5 separate regions of the Homo sapiens genome follow, and regions 1, 3, 4 and 5 are each linked to region 2. Evidence: promoter capture Hi-C in 16 types of primary human blood cells and fetal thymus (Javierre and others, 2016). All regions are on one chromosome and are shown on one strand. The core of a region is centred on a gene start or on the middle of the fragment in contact, and the rest is flanking DNA. Distances in the headings are between cores, read along the strand shown.

Region 1 (2,700 bases), core at 185-2,684, 870 kb after region 2:
CTCATTACTTCAGGAGAACATTTTTTTCTTCACTTTCCTGAATGGTCATATCACACACTGCTACTTGTCATGTAACTTTTTCAACAATCTCACGCTTACTTAATTTCTGCATAGATTTATTATATCAGATCGAAGGTTGCACACTCAAAGAGATCCCCATCATTGCCAGATTGATTCAGGACCTAATTTTTTTAATTGCGTAGACCTTTAATGACTCTACTGCAGGCCTTAATAAAACTTTGATAATATGAATATTTACATAATAATTGCATCATATTTCATTTACAATTGTTCTTACTAGTTATTGTTTATCATTGGGGTGGAAGTTCACCCTGTCTTGTTCATCACCTTCTCATAATTGGGAGAGGTTCATAATTAAGATTACATTGCGGCACAGAAGAGTAAGTCATCAATTGAACCATGAGCAAATATATACAATGTACATGTTTATGATGAGGTTAGGAGATCTTGTCATCTTTTCCAGGCAAAACAAAACCTGTATACACTGGGGTCACAGCTCATGAGAACAAAGGGGCTGAGAGTTGGGAAACATACACTCATTAAGGCTGAAGTGTTCACCAGTAAACTATTGGGATTATCCAAAAGAGCCATACAAACTTGGAAAAGGCAGGAGAGAGTGTAAGAAGACACAAAGGTGCTCACCAGGATGAGGATGCTCTGCGTAGCTCTGTTCTCTGGGGAGGCTCTGGGGGAGAGATTGCTCCTATCAATGTGCTGGACCCGCTGCTTGTGCCTGTGCAGTATGCAAACCATGGAGCTGCTGACCCAGAGCATGAGCCCCAGACACAACACATCAGGGAATGATAACAACATTGCACGCAGTGTCTGTGCGATTTTGTTGTTGCCTCCCCCAGAACAGTATCCCAAATCCTCGTTCACTGTGATGTTTGTGTAGTTCCATTTGCCAGTCACATACATGGGAAAGATGATGTTTACCAACATGCACACGATCCAGCACAGGAGAACAGAAAAGCCAACATGCTTGGGGGCTTTCTCTTTAAGTTTTGCCCACCTGGATTTCCTGGAGCTGACCGTGATCACCTGGAAGACACTCAAGAGGCAGGTGGTGCCAATGGACACTCCCCTGCCCACTCTATGGAGATAGAAAACAAGTTTGCACCCAAGAGCATTGAGAAAATATCTAACCCCAAAAGCTGCCATTGTCTGGGGGACTCCTTTACAGCGGAGAGCTAAGAAGTTGGCTACAATCAGGTGCTTAACAATCAAATCTGTGGACCTTAACCTGCACCCAGTGCAGTAAAAGGAGAGATAATGGAGAAGAACAGAGAAGCTCCCCAGGACTCCCACCACGGTCTGTGATAAGATCATTCCCACTGCCACATACCGGGAGGCCATTCTGCCACTGATGTCTGTCACTGATGTTTGTCTTCAGGGCTGGGAGGTCCTGCATGGAAATAGGAGGCATGAGCTACGTTTATAGTGTCACCTGCAACCCAGCATTCTCCACCTCCCATTGCTCTGCCCTTAGAAATACTTAAAGTCACTCTTCTCTTAAGAGGCTTTTGAGAGTTGAATGCGTAACCTTTAAAGAGCACTTCCCATGTGGGAATCACTGCTGTGCAGATCATACGTGCGGCAACTTCTTTATTCACAAACCTATGAGGCAGGCATTACTATTACTTTCATTGTAAATATGAGAAGGACATACACACAGAGAGGTGAAGTGGCTGGCAACATTTCCACCCTACTTACAGGCAAAATGCGAACTTGAACCTGCCTGGTTTTATTGCAAAGACAGTGCATTTAGCCGTTATAGTTGACTAACAAAGCTAGATAGCTGTGTTCTTTGAATAAGACACACACACACACACACACACACACACACACACACACACACATACACACACACACCCCTTTGTTTTTATTCCTTGTCATTATATTTCAGTCTTGTAGTAGGTTACTGTATGTTGTAATGATTTTACATTATGTGTAAAAATGTATTCTATTTGTCAATATCCAAATAAATAAAGGTTTAGAGATCTTAAAAAATGTAGATGCAGGGATTACAGTTTGATACTATAGAAACCTGCACCATGACAAGTTGGATTTAATGACTGCAAGCATGGATCAATATTAGAATGGAAAGAGAGTAAAAAACATTGTGAGCATTTGCTTTTGTGCCACGGACAAAGGCATAAAGGCACCTACCACAATCATGTCTTACCCAAAACAATAGGACATGAAACAACAATATGGGATAAAATAGTGTAAGGTAATAACCAAATTCTTACAAATGTTAGATGACATATCTAGATCTATTAATAACTGAGTTAAATAAATTATTATCCTTAGGACAATATTTGCATAACTAAATTAAAATGTGACAAACGTGAAAATTGGAAACTCTAGTGGGTGTATATTATATATACTTTGTAAACGGAAATTAGAGAGTTTGGGTGATGTTAGAATCTATCTGAAGCAGAGAACACATCAGAGGACACATTTGAGTCTGATAGCTGCTCTCTTTAGCTCATTATTATAAAGTTACCTTTTCCTTAAATGCTGCCTCCTTAACATCAAGAGGAAAGACAGTCTCACCATAATCAACAGACTATGGCAGTTTTCAGTAGAGACACAATTAATGCTCCCATTAAGCCCTGCACACTCTCAGAATTAGAGAAAACATTTTCGTTCCAGCAACTACTAATTAGATACACT
Region 2 (2,700 bases), core at 169-2,668:
AGGATTGCTGCCTCAAGCAGGATAACCAGGCCTGCCTGGAGCAGTGCCGTAGTCCAGGATCCCAGTGACCTAGGTGAGAAGTTGGTACTCAGATCAAAGAAAAGTTCTTCAGGTGACCCCACTGTCTGCAGCCAATGGGCCTGCTTGTGGGCCTTATGTATTTGTGTTTCAAAAATAACCTGAGGGCTTGATGTGGGGGTCCTTATCTCCCATGCAAGGTGATTCATGCCTATAATCCGAGCACTTTGGTAGGAGCAGATGGGAAGACTGCTTGAGGCTAGAAGCTGGAGACCAGCCTGGGCAACAAAACCAGACTACATCTCTATTAAAAACAAAGCAACAAACAGTAGAAAATTAGCACAGTGGAGAGGCACAGGCCTTTACTCACAGCTACTCGGCAGGCTGAGACAGGGGGTCACCTGCCCAGGACCCCAGGAAGTCAAGGTTGCAGTGAGCTATGATTGCGCCACTGCATTTCAGCCTCGGTGGCAGAGACCCTGTCTTAAAATTTTAAAAAGTATTAAAAAACTAAGTTGGACCGGGCGTGGTGGCTACTCTGGAGGCTGGGGCAAGAGAATCACTTGAACCCAGGAGGCGGAGGTTACAGTGAGCTGAGTGCCTGCCACTGTACTCCCGCCTGGGGGACAGAGGGAGACGCTGTCTCAAAACAACAACAACAACAAAAAACTACGTCGTTTATGGCTATTTTTATAAGTTACTGGCTTTTTTTTTTTAAAGAATCGGTGACTTATCTTCACACTGGCCTTAGTCCTCCATGCCCAACACGATGTCCCTAGGAAAGTCTCTGGAATTGAGCACAGGGTTGACCTTCACCGTCTAGAGTGAATGGGGAAGATAAATGAAAAGTATTTATCTTCTATGGGCACTGGCATGAAATAGAACATTCTACCCTGGCAGGGTTTTGCATTTCACATTTTAGCTTGCATCATCCCCTTCACAGACAATTCCAAAGTGTGTTAATTCAATTCCTAAAGCTTCCCTTCCCTTCCTCCCTTCCCTTCCCTCCTTACTTTTCTTTCTTGTCCATTTATTTTCGGTTTTTTTCTCTTTCTTTCTTGGTTTTCTTTCTCTTTTTCAACTTCTCTTTCTTTTCTCTTTCTCTTTACTCTCTCTCTTCTCTCTCTTTCTGCTTCCAGGGTAGGTGGGACTTGAAATTCATTTTAATAGAAGGAATTTTCGTGGATATAATCTACAACCGATTTTGCTCTGCGCAGGTAAGATCCGTTTTCAGACCAAAACCCTGAAAACAAGCGCAGCCAGTCAAGCGAACGGAAGCGCAGGCCCGGCCCAGGCTTTGTCCCGGCCCGCCCTGGTCCCAGCCAGTCCGGCCTCTAGGATGCGCGCGCAATTTCGTGCAAACCCGGAAGCGGACCGCGGGGGGCGAACGCCTAGAGCGCAGTTTCCGGTAGACCCGGAAGCCGATTGCAGGGAGAAACTGTTTTCGCAGCAGTGCGTGAGTTTCCCTTTGTCTATGTTAAGTCTAGGCTAGCCAGTTCTTCTCTGCTTCTATACCCGGGAGCTGAGGGGCATGCAGACCTTGAAATCCCGGCACCGCTCCCTCCACCCCGAGTAAATTCAGACATCCTTTGAGAGTCTGGGAGTCGCTTTCTGCGTGTTAAAATCGCTTGGAGGCTGGTCGTGTGCCCGGTCTTTTTGTCATTTACCCACGTAGACACCTCCTATCGTGGGGTTTACCTGCTTCAAATCCTTTAGTAACCCCTACACACGCCCCGCACCACGTAAAATCCTCACTCTCCGTTCCCCTAGCCTCGCCCTTCTTTGCCCCTAGAGCTCAGCGCCCCAACAGGGCACGAGAGGCCTCGTCCTCTGCCCAGACCTGGTTTCTGCAGACTCCACCCCTCTCCTGACCCACTCCTGCCTTTTTGCTCCTTAATCTGGACCCTCTGTTCCCCAGGCCTCCCTTTTCCAGCCACCGGTTCTCCTGACCCCGAGTGTGGGGGGTGACTTCAGTCTCCTGACATCCAGTGTTCTCTCGAGCCAGTTTCCAGCCCACAGAAAATGAGCTCTTCCGGAAGTGGGCATCTTATTCCAATCCCCTCCCTGTGAATGTGTGGAGAAAAAGAGATGGGAACGAGGCAGAGGAAATAGAGAAATTTTGAAAGAGAAATGAAGAATGAGAGACCCATTAACAGAAGGCAAAGTAGAAGGTGAGTGAGGGGTTTGCAGAGGCACAGTGAAAGAAGGTGCCGAGAAAATAGCAGGGGAGAAAAGTAACTGTAAAAATATAGACAAACCTGGGTCTGTAGAAAGACGAAATTCAACAAGATAGGGAAGGCTTCTCAGACAGAGGGGGGAGAGGAGGAGGGATTTGGAGCCAGGTCAGACAGAGCAGCGTGGTGCTGGGACAGCCAGAGGGGGCAGCTGGTCACAAGGAGAACAGGGAGAACCACAGCAGGGGGAGGCCTGGGATCTAAGGGTGCCAGAGAGTGGGGACAGGGGTGTGTAATATCGAAGATGGAATTTAACAGGGAGACCCCAAGGGGAGCTGAGATGTGGGAGGAAAGAGGCAGAAATATATGGAGATTAGGGACAATGAAAGATTGGGCAGAAAGAGGAATAAGAGGTGAAACAAGTTGTAAAAATGGATCAGAACAGGTGGGAGAGAAGGAATAGAGGGAAGAATGGGACAAAGAGAAGAGGAGGGACTCAAAATGAACA
Region 3 (2,700 bases), core at 109-2,608, 840 kb after region 2:
CTCCAAGGTTTGAACTTTGGAATAAAGCATTACCATGTATATTATGTTTACAATGTTTCTTTTCAATGTGTATTTTCTGGTGTCTAGTGAGGTTTGCAAATTGGGTAAAAGCTTTGCCACATTCAGTACATTTGTAAGGTTTCTCTCCAGTATGGATTTTCTTATGCTGAGTAAGATTTGAACGTTCAGTAAAGGCTTTGCCACATTCAGTACATTTGTAAGGTTTCTCTCCAGTATGAGTTCTCTGATGACCCCAAAGGTGTGAACGTTTGATAAAAGCTTTATCACATTTATTACATTTGTAAGGTTTTTCTCCAGTGTGAATTCTCTGATGTTCCACAAGACTTGAACTTTGGATAAAAGCCCTGCCACACACATTACATTTGTGTGGTTTCTCTCCAGGATGTATATTCTGATGCCTAGTGAGATGTGAGCACTGCTTAAAAGCTTTGCCACACTCATTACATATGTAAGGCTTCTCTCCAGTATGGATTCTCTTATGTTGGGTAAGGCTTGAACGTTCAGCAAAGGCTTTGTCACATTCATTACATTTGTAAGGTTTCTCTCCAGTATGAATTCTTTCATGACCCCAAAGGTGTGAACGCTGGATAAATGCCTTACCACATTCATTACATTTGTAAGGTTTCTCTCCAGTATGCATCCTCTGATGACTTGCAAGATTTGAATTTTGACTACAGACCTTGCCACATATATTACATTGATATGGTTTCTCTCCTGTATGGACTCTCTGATGCCTAGTGAGGTTCGAACACTGGTTAAAGGCTTTGCCACACTCGTTACATTTGTAAGGTCTCTGTCCAGAGTGAATTCTCTGATGATTAGTGAGGTTCGAACTTTTGCTAAAAGCCTTTCCACAGTCATTACACTTGTATGATTTTTCTCTAATGTGTGTTCTCCCATACTGTGTATGTAATAAAGGGTATTTCAAAATCTTCCTATATTTATTACAAATGTTTTTGACACAAGGAGGAAGTGGTGAAACTGAGGAACTATTGATAGACTTCTCAACTGGATTACATTCATACATTTTCTCCCCAGTTTGAAATCTCTGTAGTTCAGCCAGCTGTGCCTGTAAGCTTAATCCAATTTTATTTTCAAAACACTTCACGTATTTGTTTCCGGCATACCTTATGTTATTTTTCAGTTTTAACAAATTCCTTATAAATGGCTTGTCATGGATGAAATACTGGTGTGCACTATCTCTTATAGAAACACTCTGCTTTAAAGAGAAATGTATTGAGGATTTATTATGTTGTTGATCTTTTCTGTGAGTGAGATTTTTGTTACAGGTCAAAGGCATTCCTTTGTAATTTTTTACATCATAGTCCCACAGGCTGTCAAACTTAGGCATATTTTCCCAGACTTCCTTGAGGTCAAAATTGTTGATGCCATGGCTTTCCTTTCTTTCTAATATCACCAGATGGTATAATTCCTCTTTATTATTTTCCTTTGGTGATAATCCCTTGCTTGTAAATCCAACAGAAATATCTGAAAGATATTAAAAAAACCACAGGCTTTCCATCAAATAGAGTTGCAAGGTAAATATTTTATTAAAATACATATTACAAGAAAGCTAAGATTTACAATGAACAGAGTTATGAAGCTTCTCAACTGTCTTTAAACGTTTAACAACACAAAGGGACTAGCTGTCCTCAATAAAGTAACACAGTAACAAAACATGTAACAAATTATTTTAAGCACAGTTTAAAACACCCTATAGCTAAAACACTCATACTATGTAAATCCACATAAACTCTGAAAGAAGAGGTATTTTTCCACCACCACTCCAAGGAACACGTAAATTGGCATAGCTATATGGTAGTCTCATATTTGAAGATAAACAAATAGTAATGCATTATTTAGTACATAATTATTACACACAAAAGGTAAGGCACAGCTCAAGCTTATCTAATAAAAAATATTTAAAAATGACAATTCATAATTGCAAACAAAACACTGAAAGAAAAAATTCGGAAGAATTTAATAAAATTTTGAATATTTACAAATTGCAAATGTGAGTACTTGTTATAAAACTACTTACACCCATGTAGAATGTGCATTTTGCAGCATTAACAATTTGTGCATGGTGGTTCTATTGCATAATATATACTGAAAAACCATCATCTGTAAATCATTACAAAAATAAATAAAACACTTTAGTAACCTGTGAAAATCTAACAGGCAAGTTAATGAACAACCACAATTACACAAAATTGTCAGTGAAATTCTAAAGAATTACTGCTTATGAACTACAGAAAAAACAGAAGGGACACACAATAGGAAAAATAATATGTTGAGAATCACTAAATTTTGAAATATCAGCTTCAGGTAAATGCACATTACTATAAAGATGAAGAATTAGGAGGGGAGTCTGAAATAATTTCATGCCTGCAGTTATATGACAGCAGTATATAGAGAAACTCCCTGACTAGGAAATGTCATCTAGTTTTCCAGTTCTATGGCCAAAAAATACATATAATGAAAGCTGTGTGCTTTAACATTTTATTATGTAGAGTCAGAGAAATGTTGATATGAAAAAAAAAATTACAAAAAAGAAAATATGTAAGATATAATGAAGGCAAAGGTCAATCTCATAAGAAACATGACAGACACTTGACATATCTTATTCATAAAGGTAACTTTTCAAAGCATACTAAATGCTATGCAAGTTACTAAGGT
Region 4 (2,700 bases), core at 142-2,641, 760 kb after region 2:
CAAACTGGTCATGCTTGAGTGCTTCCTCCTTTGTCACTAGATGGACGTTCAAACCACACAAAGCTTCCTCTAACCCATCCCCACACCTTATCAACCATAACACACCAAGCAAGTTGCTTATCTGGGCTCTCAAGCCATTTTTAGACCAGCTTTGGAAGTCTACCCAGCTTTCCCCAGAAACCCACATTATGTAATAAACAGTCTCATAACACTTCTCAACCAACCTTTAGGTGAAGTTCAATACAGTTCCAGTAGAGAGGTCACAAGTTCAAATGATCAAAATGTTATGAGGGTGAACATACAAACTTTGTCGTTTATCTGCCAGGAAAAAAAAAAATCTGAATGTGTTATGTTCTTTCTTAAAAGAAAATTTATATATATTAATTTTTCCAATTGCCACTGAGCATTCCAAAGGTAAAAAAGAGATGTTGTTGTTTTTATCCATATTCCCCACAGTTTTTTTGTTTCCTAATATGTCATATTTTTACTATACTTGTATTTTCACTTCAGGTACATCAAGATAAATGCCATAGGTGTTATTTGGCATGCAAGAAAGAGACATGCAAAAATATAATAATACTGTGCATATGCATGAAGAGCAATGCAGACTTCAGGGTGTGAGAGTCTGAAATATCCTTTCTGTGGGATTTTCATTATACCACATAAGTATCCCAAGGCAGAGTGTGGAGAGAATAATTCAAGTACAAAATACAATTAGTTTCTGGGCTGGGCATGGTGGCTCACACCTGTAATCCCAGAGCTTTGGGGGGGCCAAGGCAGGTGGATCACTTGAGGTCAGGAGTTCGAGACCAGCCTGGCCAACATAGTGAAACCCTGTCTCTACTAAAAATACAAAAACTAGCCGGGTGTGGTAACGGGCACCTATAATCCCAGCTACTTGGGAGGCTGAGGCAGGAGAATTGCTTGAACCCGGGAGACAGAGGTTGCAGTGAGCCGAGATCACGCCACTGCACTCCAGCCTGGGTGACAGAATGAAACTCCATCTCAAACAAACAAACAAAAAAACCAAAATACACTTAGTTTCTGAAAATTATATGTTGTTTGATCCAACAATGGAAATCATTGTTCTAGATCCTTCGATAGCTTAATGGTGCAGTGTTGTTATCTGTTATGAAGTATGCTACTGAGGTAGGATAAAACTATGTTGGCAAGAAATGATTCATTCATACTTATAAAATACATCAAATTTTATTAGTTAAAACATTAAATCTATGATGCATTCTTAAATAGTAGCAAAATGTGATTCCAGCAGTTAATGTAAATCCTAGTAACAAACATGGGATTCTGGTTACTTTGATTAAACTTCTTATGCTCGGCCGGCCGGGCACGGTGGCTCCAGCCCGTAATCCCAGCACTTTGGCAGGCCAAGGTGGGCGGATTATGAGGTCAGGAGTTCGAGACCAGCCTGGCAAACATAGTGAAACTCCATCTCTACTAAAAATACAAACATTAGCCAGGCGTGGTGGTGCATGTCTGTAATCCCAGCTACTTGGGAGGCTGAGGCAGGAGAATCGCTAAAACCCAGGAGGCGGAGGTTGCGGTGAGCTGAGATTGCATCACTGCACTCCAGCCTGGGCAACAGAACAAGACTCCATCTCAAAAAAAAAAAAAAAAATCAATCTTTGCTATGCAACAGCTATTGGCATTTGATGGAGAAGGTAGCCTCCACTTTTCTGCATTATTTGTACCACACATCAGTCCCTAATAAGCTATTACTCTCCTCTAATAAAAATCCGAGTGTCTTCCTGGCTCTATTTCATGGTCTACTGGTAGAGAATTTCTTTCTTTCTTTTTTTGAGTCAGAGTTTCGCTCTTATTGCCCAGACTGGAGTGCAGTGGCATGATCTCGGCTCACCACAACCTCTGCCTCCCGGGTTCAAGCGAGTCTCCTGCCTCAGCCTCCTGAGTAGCTGGGATTACAGGCATGCGCCACCATGCCTGGCTAATTTTGTATTTTTAGTAGAGATGGGGTTTCTCCATGTTGGTCAGGCTGGTCTCGAACTCCCGACCTCAGGTGATCCACCCACCTTGGCCTCCCAAAGTGCTGGCATTACAGGCGTGAGCCACTGTGCCCGGCCAGTAGAGAATTTCTTCCCATACCCACAGTGCTCTTCTGTCAGAAGAAGGGCACCTGCAGTGCAATAAGGATGATGAGTGACATCATAGTTCATCATCCTCTGCCCTTTCCAAGTGCTCTCTAATTCAGACTATATTTAATTTTAAAAGGCAGAGTCTTTTTTCTTCAGGAGCTTGGAGAGAAATAATCCTCACCTAATGAAGTGAGTGAGCCCTTCCATCCTTTGATTCTTTCCCGAACAACACCATGTTAGGCGTATAATCATGTATAAAATCAGCACATTGCAAAGTTCTGGTTGGAAGTTATAAATAGTAGCCTTTTCAATAAATCTTAAATACTTCAACAAAACATTTTATAAGCTGAAAGTAATTGGCCATTTCCAAACATCCTACAACCTTTGATATGTATCATGTAATGAGTTTTAACACATTTGGACTTCTGATTATGCTGAAGTATATAATATCAGAGGGTTATGAGGAAACTAGAGACTGAGTTCTACTCTTCCTATGAATCCTCACCTACAGTTGTGGTCCAGGAGTAATAGTCTCAGCATGCATGTTACGTTTGTGTGACTTCATCAAAGATGTATCTTTTGATGCGTA
Region 5 (2,700 bases), core at 173-2,672, 800 kb after region 2:
ATAGTCCCCCTCTTTCTTCCTTCCTGTGTGTTTCCCTCCCTCATTCTGTACATCTCTCTCATTCTCTTCTTCTCTCTCCTTGTTTCTTTTCTGTGTTTCAGCCTGGGTCTCTGCTCCTCATTTTGAGCCCCTCTCTTCTCCTGCTGTTTCTCCTTCCCTCTATCCTTCTCTTCCACTTGTTCTGTTCCATTCTTGCAACTTGTTTCACCTCTTATTCCTCTTTCACCCGTCTTTTGGTTGTCCCCAATCTCCATCTATTTCTGCCTCTTTCTTCCCTTATCTCTGCTCTCCCTGTTAAATCCCCTCTTCCCTGTTTCACTTCCTTGTCCCCACTCTTTGGCACCCCCAGATCCCAGGTCTCCCCCTGCTGTGGTTCTCCCTCTGCTCTCCTTGTCACCAGCTGCCCCTTCTTGCTGTCCCAGCACCACGCTGCTCTGTCTATCCTGGCTCCAAATACCCCCTCCTCTCCCTAACTCTCCGTCTGAGGAGCTGCCCCTCTCCCTACCTTGCTGTCCTTCATCTCTCTAGACAGCGAGCTTTTCTCTACATTTCTCCAGTTGTTTCTCCATCCTGTTACTTTCTCAGCGACTTCTTTCACCCTTACTGTCTCTTTGTAAATCCTGACCCATCCTCTACTTTGCCATGTTTACTGGTTTCCCTCATTCTTTCCTCTGTCTCCGTTTTTCTACTTTTCTCTCAGCCCCCCTCTCTGTCTCCTGATCCCCTTGGCCCACACATTCACAGGGAGGGTTTGGAGTAAGACACCTGGATCCTGGAGGAGCACATTTTCCAGCGGGTGGAGCTGGGCAGGCAAGAACACCGGGTATCACAGGACAAGGCCCGGGCACCTCCCCAACGCGGGCTCAGGGGAAACGGTGACTGCGAAGGGGAGGCCTAGGGAGCAGCAGGGCCCGGCACGAGGAGGAGGGAGGTGGGGGGCGACGGCGCCTTAGGAGAGGGGTGGGGTATGCAGGATCCCAGGACCAGGCAGAGGCGCGGCCTCCCCGGGACTGGGGCTGCGGCGCTAACGCTCCAGTAGCTGACTAGGGCGAGGTTAGGGGACGGTAAAATCCTGCACCCACTTCGCAGATGAGGACTTCACAGGGCGCAGGTCAGTAAAGGGTTTTAAGCAGGAAACGGCGCAGGAAAGGAGGTGTCTGCATGGTCTGAAGGCCGAAAGACCGCGGGCAGGACCAGCCTGTGTGATTTTAACCCAAAGCGATGCGACCCCCAGAGTCTCGCGGCAAAGTCTGAATTTACATGGAATGGAGGGAGCCGTGCGGGGACTTTAAGGGCTATACGAACCCCCGGACATCGGGTACGGAGGAGCAGGGGACTCCGAAACGCAGGTTTAATCTAGATAGAGGGAAACTCACGCGGCGACTAACAGCCTTCACTCCAAGAGATCTGCTTCCGGGTTTGCAAGAAACTGCCCGCGCAGTAGGCAAAGGGGCGGGTTGCGGTGGGGAAAGGCCAGGCGTTGGGAGGGACTGAGAGCATAGGGTGGGCGGGGCCGGGGCGGGGCCTGAACCCTGGAGGCGGAGGTTGCAATGAGCCGATATCGCGCCATTGCACTCCAGCCTGGGTGACAGAGTGAGACTTCGTCTCTCCCAAAAAAAAAAAAAAACAAAACTTAGGCTATCTAAAAGTTTAACCAATGGCCAGTAATATAAGCAATCATGCATATGTAATGAAGGCGCCATAACAACCCAAAAGGAGAGGATTCAGCGGAGCTTCTGGATAGGTGAACACTGGGAGGCTCCTGCAGCGTGGTGCACCCAGGGAGGGCACCAAGGCTCAACGCCCCTTCTCCCATGCCTCACCTCACTGATCCCTTCCATCTGGCTGTTCTTCTGTCAACTTTGTAATATCCTTTATAATACGTAAATCTATGTAAAGTGTTTCCCTGTATTTTGTGAGCCACTCTAGCAAATTCGTTGAACCTGAGGAGGGGGTCAAGGGACTCCTGGATTTATATCTGATCTGTAAGCACAAGTCACAACCTCTGCTTGAGACTGGCATTGAAATGTGTGCACTATTGTGGGACTGAGCCCTCAACGTGTGGGATCTGATGCCATGTCCCGGCAAAATGGAACGGAATGAGAGAACACGCACCTGGTGTCTGTGGCAGGATTGCTTGCTTGGTGTGTGTGGGAAAACCCAGTACCTCTGGGCTAACTGTAGCATTCTGTGTTGTGAGAGAACAGTAGAAGAAACTGAATCAGTGTTTCCTATATTCTTAAATACGAATATGTGAGGTTTGTTGTTGTTTTTTTTTTTTTTTTTTTTTTTTTAGACAAGAGTCTTGCTCTTGTCGCCCAGGCTGGAATGCAATGGCATGATCTCGGCTCACTGAGCCACCGCCCCAGCGTGAAGGCATTTTTGAGCAAGTTATGTCTCCCTAATTCTGTTTTATTGTACTTTTCCCTAAGTAGTTATAATAGCCTCTAAATCTGTGTGGAGTTTTCAGTTTTGTGGACAATACAATAAATAGACAAATAAAAACCCAAACACAAGCTGATCTCTATAGAAGTGTTAGATATTATTTTCAACACACTAAGTGATACTCCGTATCTAGATAAGCTAAAGCACGAATGATGTCTTCTGAGGTGACAAGGTCCACAGTGGCTTTACAGAAACACTGGCCAGAAGTAAAAACTGTGATGATAATGGCAATAGCAATGACTGACTTTTCTGAAC

What was found. Contacts are between HindIII fragments. The CHiCAGO score rates a contact against its expected background, and 5 or more counts as called.
Region 1: the fragment with the promoter of VN1R4 here is called in contact with the fragment with the promoter of ZNF528 in region 2 in 4 of 17 cell types (erythroblasts, naive CD8 T cells, neutrophils and 1 more); the score reaches 7.6 in erythroblasts.
Region 3: a fragment that was not itself captured here is called in contact with the fragment with the promoter of ZNF528 in region 2 in 2 of 17 cell types (naive B cells and naive CD8 T cells); the score reaches 6.0 in naive B cells.
Region 4: a contact is called between a fragment that was not itself captured here and the fragment with the promoter of ZNF528 in region 2, in 2 of 17 cell types (total B cells and naive CD8 T cells). The highest score is 5.3, in total B cells.
Region 5: the fragment with the promoter of ZNF665 here is called in contact with the fragment with the promoter of ZNF528 in region 2 in 2 of 17 cell types (erythroblasts and total CD8 T cells); the score reaches 6.9 in erythroblasts.

The regions. Positions count from the first base shown.
Region 1 is chr19:53,266,289-53,268,988 of GRCh38, forward strand. It overlaps VN1R4 (vomeronasal 1 receptor 4), which reads right to left and starts at 1,435. Exons shown (of 1, transcript NM_173857.3): 1 at 388-1,435. The coding sequence starts at 1,377. The coding sequence ends at 472. The HindIII fragment of the contact is 11,315 bases long and covers 1-2,700 here.
Region 2 is chr19:52,396,431-52,399,130 of GRCh38, forward strand. It overlaps ZNF528 (zinc finger protein 528), which reads left to right and starts at 1,419. Exons shown (of 7, transcript NM_032423.3): 1 at 1,419-1,474; 2 at 1,937-2,189. It overlaps ZNF528-AS1 (ZNF528 antisense RNA 1), which reads right to left and starts at 1,327. Exons shown (of 7, transcript NR_125345.1): 1 at 1,032-1,327; 2 at 765-837; 3 at 180-322; 4 at 1-69. It also overlaps a transcript of ZNF880 not described here. RefSeq lists an enhancer at 731-1,930. The HindIII fragment of the contact is 5,447 bases long and covers 994-2,700 here.
Region 3 is chr19:53,237,049-53,239,748 of GRCh38, forward strand. ZNF677 (zinc finger protein 677) reads right to left here. Exons shown (of 5, transcript NM_182609.4): 5 at 1-1,509. Among named protein-coding and RNA genes, the nearest start is that of ZNF677, 16 kb to the right of the region's middle. The HindIII fragment of the contact is 527 bases long and covers 1,096-1,622 here.
Region 4 is chr19:53,161,234-53,163,933 of GRCh38, forward strand. It overlaps ZNF665 (zinc finger protein 665), which reads right to left. Exons shown (of 4, transcript NM_024733.5): 4 at 1,191-2,700. Among named protein-coding and RNA genes, the nearest start is that of ZNF347, 3.5 kb to the left of the region's middle. The HindIII fragment of the contact is 2,661 bases long and covers 62-2,700 here.
Region 5 is chr19:53,191,936-53,194,635 of GRCh38, forward strand. It overlaps ZNF665 (zinc finger protein 665), which reads right to left and starts at 1,423. Exons shown (of 4, transcript NM_024733.5): 1 at 1,377-1,423. RefSeq lists an enhancer at 1,239-1,388. The HindIII fragment of the contact is 17,049 bases long and covers 1-2,700 here.